Linked DNA regions of Homo sapiens: region 1 is linked to region 2. Evidence: promoter capture Hi-C in 16 types of primary human blood cells and fetal thymus (Javierre and others, 2016). All regions are on one chromosome and are shown on one strand. Each heading gives the region's core, a stretch centred on a gene start or on the middle of the fragment in contact. The rest is flanking DNA. Distances are from core to core; before and after follow the strand shown.

Region 1 (2,700 bases), core at 40-2,539, 300 kb before region 2:
TTCTTTTTTTCTTTTTTGGTTGTTGTTTTTTGAGACGGAGTCTTGCTCTGTCGCCCAGGCTGAAGTGCAGTGGCACGATCATGGCTCACGGCAGTCTCCGCCTCCCAGGTTCACACCATTCTCCTGCCTCAGCCTCCGGAGTAGCTGGGACTACAGGCTCCCGCCACCACGCCCGGCTAATGTTTTATATTTTTAGTAGAGACGGGGTTTCACCGTGTTAGCCGGGGTTTCACCGTGTTAGCCAGGGTTTCTCAATCTCCTGACCTCATGATCCGCCCGCCTCGGCCTCCCAAAGTGCTGGGATTATAGGCGTGAGCCACCGTGCCCGGCACCAGCCACTATTTTCTAAGCATGTCGGGCACCAAAGACCAGTGCTGAGTTCTGCTGTGTGCCCACCCTGGAGGGTCCCAAGGTGCCACCAAGGCTCAGACACACAGATTCTCAGAGGAAGTGTGGACTCACAGGTGGGCAATGCCTAGCAGAGGCAAAGATATAGAGGTAAGGGAGTTCCTTACTTACTATATCTTACAAAGATATAGAGGTAAGGGAGTTCCTTACTTACTATATCTTACAAAGATATAGAGGTAAGGGAGTTCCTCTGAATCTGGGTGGCCAGATTCAGCTTCCCACCCAACCCTGGGTCCCCAGGAGGTGGTGTCAAGAGAGGCCATGGCCTGGGATGCGGGCCCTTCTTCCTCCCAGAACACTGGCCTGAATCAGCCAGCTCTTGGCACACACAGCCAGGTCCACAGGCACAACTGTTCCTTGGGGCCCCTGAGGGCAGGGGGTGTGCTGGGGCTGTGGCTTGTAATGTCTGGAGTGAGTGCAGGCTCAGATCAGGGCGAGGCTGCTTGTCCAGAGAGGCAGAAAATTCTCCAACAGAAGACCCCCAAGGCGGAGGGCCCTGGGGCTGGACTCCTGGAGGTTGTTCTGAGCTTACCCTGTGGACGGATTGGAGGGTGGCCCTCCTTCCCCACAAGGATCAAGAGGGGGTGGGGGATGGTGGGAGGGCAATCTGGCCAGGCGAACCTGCGGGGGAGGCTCCCGCCCTCCCCAGTCCCACCATCTCAGCCCCGCAGCCTCTTTCTCCCTGGAGACAGCCAGGTGCGGCCCAGGATCCCGGGAAAGGCAGGGGAGGGGGTGGCGTCTTCGCTCCTCAGGCGCTGGCCCGGCCCAGAGGGGACAGGAAGCCAGGACACCGGGGATTGTCTCTCGCAACCGCAGCCCAGCCCCAGTCCGGGAGGAAGTTCTGCCCGGCGCTCTCCGCCGGTGCCTCCCTGGTTATATTGTTGAACAGGAAACCCGGCAGCGCGGGAGCCGCACAGTCGAGGAGGGAGCGCGGGACGCCGAGCCCACGCGCGCCTGCCGGGGCAAGTGGAGGCGAAGCCGGCGAGCGGACGCCCCGAGGTGCCCGGGCAGGCAGGGTCGGGAGTGGGGCGCCGAGCGGGGGTTGGGGGTGGGAAGTGGGGTGGGGGTGGGGAAAGGGCAGGGTTGGGAAGGGAAGGGTGCGGCAGGTGGCGGGTCCGCACCCGGGAGCTCCGCGCGCCTGCTCCCCTTGTCTCCGCGCTGGGGCGGGAGCTGCGCGGGCCGCATCCCACGGGGAGGAGAAGGTAGGCGAAGGGCTGCCCTCCATCTGGGGGCTGGAGGGAAGCAGGCCCAGGCCCCCAGCGCCGACCCAGGCGTTGACGCCCCTGTAGCTTGAGTCGCCTGGGCAGTGGACGCAGGGGACCTCCTGGCGACTGGTGCGCTGTCGCGCTCCAGGGATCCTCCCGGCTTCCCCAATCCCTCCCCTTCTCTGCGTTTCCCCAGGGTCGGGGAAGGAACCGAGGTCCGGTCCCCTTCTTATCCAGCCCGAGACATCGAGCTCCGGTGGGCGTCCCTGCGCTGGGAATCCCGCTCGGAGTTTTTCCAGGCCCGGCCGGGCTGCTCCGGGAAAGGCCCTGGTGAGGGAAGAGGTGGGCCCGGAGCGGGCGGATTTGCAATCCGGTTGGAAGGGCTCGCAGTGGGTGATTCAGGGTGCAAATGACCTCCCCGGGAACAGGAACGCCCGCACGAGACAACCAGCCCCAGCCCGGCATTCCCAGAGCCGCGCACAGGAGGGACGCAGGCACTCCCGGACAGCAAATCCCGGGGGGTGGGGGGTGGGGGGGCGGGGAATAGAGGGGGAAGGCGGAGCGGGGGCGGTCCCATCCTCCTTGGGCTCCGCTCGCGACCTGCCAGTGCCCCTTCAGACGCAGCAGTCCCGGCTCCAGGTGCCGGCCTTCTGCTCTGGGCCTCGTCCCAATGCCCCCCAAGGTCCCCAGCAGAGGCATTCAGGCTCCTCCTCGCCCCACCCAGACACGGCTGCTTTGGGTATCGGTGACAGCACTCCTGAGCGTCCCTGTCCCTCTTCGCTCTGCTTGCCAGCTCCTGTTCCGCGCAGCCTCTCCGGCCTCGCCCCTGGAAACCCCGCCCAGGGCGATGGTAGGGGCCTAACCTGCAGCCACCGCCGGCTCCGCCCACCCAGCCCATGGGCTCCCTGAGGCCCGCCCAGCCGACGTGAGTGCGCTGCGGGGTCCAAGGGGAGGGGGCGCCGGGGGAGTGTCCTGCTTGGGGTTTGTTGGTTCAGCACCGGGCAGCTCGATGACCCCGCCTCCGGGGCCCAGCGTGCTTAGTGACTCAGTTTACACCCTTTCCTCGTCGAGGAACGCTTGACAAAGT
Region 2 (2,700 bases), core at 50-2,549:
CACGCCTGTAATCCCAGCACTTTGGGAGGCCGAGGCGGGCGGATCACGAGGTCAGGAGATCGAGACCATCCCGGCTAAAACGGTGAAACCCCGTCTCTACTAAAAATACAAAAAATTAGCCGGGCGTAGTGGCGGGCGCCTGTAGTCCCAGCTACTTGGGAGGCTGAGGCAGGAGAATGGCGTGAACCCGGGAGGCGGAGCTTGCAGTGAGCCGAGATCCCGCCACTGCACTCCAGCCTGGGCGACGGAGCGAGACTCCGTCTCAAAAAAAAAAAAAAAAAAAAAAAAAAAAAGAAAATTCAGGACCCCAGAGTGGCGTAGGGACCCAAGCCAGTGTGCAGAATCTCTGGGCCTGGGAGATCTGAGGATGGGGTAGAGCAGGGCAAGTAGGTGGCAAATCAGGCCCTGAGCACTAGCCTCTCTGTAGGATGCCACGCCGCTGGCCGCCGCAAAGTGGCGGTGTGCGCCCATGTCTCTGCCGGACCCAGGCCACCGGCCGCAGAAACGCTGCCACCTGGACGTCCCCCACTTCGCGCACGCACTCTGGTGCTTGCATATAAATAGTAAGTGCACACCCGACTCGGCCACCAGAACCTGCACACGGATGCCCACCCACGGGTTGACGTCGCGGACAACTACACCGCGGGTGCCGGGCTGGGGTGCCGGCCTGTCCAAGCCTCGAACCCAGAACCAGTTGCTGGGGACTCCAGGCTCGGCTCCGCCTCACGCTCCCCAGGTCCGTCAGCTCCGAGACTGTGGCTCTCCGAGGGGGCAGCACCTGGCCTGGCACAGGGAGGTTAATCCTATGACGTCACTGCCAACCTCCCCACCCCCATGCCCATCCCTTCGGGTTCGCGCTGCCCCGAGCGGCTCAGCTCCCGGGGTTCTGCCTTCGCTCCCGGCCCTGCGTCCTGTCCCGGCTCTGGTTCCCTGCTGAGGCCTGCGGCGCGACGGGGACGCGGAAGGGAAGGAGGAGGGGGTCCTGCGTCAGCCTCGAGTCAGGGCCCCCGGGAAGGAGAGGGTGTCTGTGCCAGAGGATGGCCCTCGTCCCCGGTGCCGGCTCCCACCCCCAGCCCCGCAGCATGGGGGCTCTAGTCACCCTTGCGGCCAAGATCAGAGGCTCGCCCGGACTAAGGGGAGACGGACTCACGAGCAGGGGCGAGCGCTGAGGCTCCGGGCTTCCAGGCCACCGCCTGGCCCCGCCCTCGCACCGCCCCGGCCCCGCCCCCTTCCCTTCCCGCCCCGCCCCGCCCCACCTCCTGCTGCCTCCTCCGACTCCCTCCCGCGCCGCTAAGTTTCTTCGCTCGCCGCCTCGCTCAGAGCCGGGGCCGGGCCAGAGCGGCGCCCCGCTGCCCTGTCCCCGCGTGCAGACCCCGGGCCCGGCCCCGGCCCCCCGCCAAGCCATGCTGTGCGGCCGCTGGAGGCGTTGCCGCCGCCCGCCCGAGGAGCCCCCGGTGGCCGCCCAGGTCGCAGCCCAAGTCGCGGCGCCGGTCGCTCTCCCGTCCCCGCCGACTCCCTCCGATGGCGGCACCAAGAGGCCCGGGCTGCGGGCGCTGAAGAAGATGGGTCAGTGACGGGCAAGGGGCGGTGGGGTGGGCGCGGACCGTTCCCAGAGGCCCAGTCTGGGGCGCTCCAGGGAGCAGTTCGTGGATTCCCCAGGCTGCACGGGGCTGGGAGGCTATGGCTAGGGGCGGAGGGCCAGCTCCCTCCAGCTGGGGGTCGCACCTGGGGTCATCCGAGGGTCCCGGGGCGAGCCGGGCGCCCAGGGTGTTCTTTGCTTCCCACCAGGGGGCGCTCGCGGGGCGTCTGAAGCGCGAATTCGGGCACGGGGCGCTGGTGGGGTCTCCAAGGAGAATGGAGCGGGAGAGGGAGGCTTGGGGTGTCCCTCGTCCGGCTCCCCAGCAGTATCTAGGTTCTGCCAGGGTGTCTCGGGGTCTTGGCAGCCCTTAGGAAGGATGCGAGTTTGCGGTCGGCCTCCGCAGAAGAGGCTGGCCTCCACAGCAGCCCTCCAAGCCGCGGCCCCACAGAGGCGGCCACAGCCACACTGCTCTGGCAGGACTGGTCTAACAGCCTACGTCCGACAGCCAAGGCTCTCACCTCAGATTTGGGGAAGTCAGTCGTGGAGAAGGAATGTAACTGTGGCTCATTGGAACATCACAGAGGCAGCTGGCACTGGGTGGGTTACACAGGTGGTGTCTTGCAATCTTCCTCGACTTCCTAGGTGGGAGGTGAATCCTCATTTCACAAGTGAGGAAACTGACTCAGAGACGGCAAGGAATTTGCCTATGACCACACAGCCAACAAAGGGCAAAGTGTGACTGGCACCCCGGTGGTGCCCCACCACATGGGCCCTGGTACCCTCTCAGAGTCTGGGAAAAGTGGGACCCGCAGGGCAGTGGAGGGCTTGAATGAGAGGGTGTGTGCGAGAATGTTGTCTGACGTGGAAAGGACCGCGCCACTGAAGTGCTGCGTTGGACCTGCCATTGGTAGAATAGTCAGTGATGGAGAGGCTAGGTGTGGAACTCCGGAACAGAAGGACAAGGCTGCCAGGGACCCCGTGTAGAACTTGGGGCAGAATTCAGGGGTCCTGATTGCCAGTTTTGCCTTCTTGTTACCTCGACTCATTCCACCTGAGCGCTGACTATGTCTGGGCGCTGTGCCTGGCACTCTGGTTACTGAGACATAGGACACCATCTCTAC

The links. The method cuts DNA at HindIII sites, captures the fragments that hold promoters and counts their contacts. A CHiCAGO score of 5 or more calls a contact.
Region 1: a contact is called between the fragment with the promoter of ARHGAP27 here and the fragment with the promoter of PLCD3 in region 2, in 1 of 17 cell types (neutrophils). The highest score is 5.3, in neutrophils.

The regions. Positions count from the first base shown.
Region 1 is chr17:45,431,459-45,434,158 of GRCh38, reverse strand. ARHGAP27 (Rho GTPase activating protein 27) reads left to right here and starts at 1,289. Exons shown (of 20, transcript NM_001282290.2): 1 at 1,289-1,407; 2 at 1,810-1,943; 3 at 2,407-2,538. The HindIII fragment of the contact is 25,899 bases long and covers 1-2,700 here.
Region 2 is chr17:45,131,114-45,133,813 of GRCh38, reverse strand. It overlaps PLCD3 (phospholipase C delta 3), which reads left to right and starts at 1,299. Exons shown (of 15, transcript NM_133373.5): 1 at 1,299-1,566. The coding sequence starts at 1,404. It also overlaps a transcript of ACBD4 not described here. RefSeq lists an enhancer at 506-575 and silencers at 1,046-1,265, 1,366-1,495. The HindIII fragment of the contact is 26,016 bases long and covers 1-2,700 here.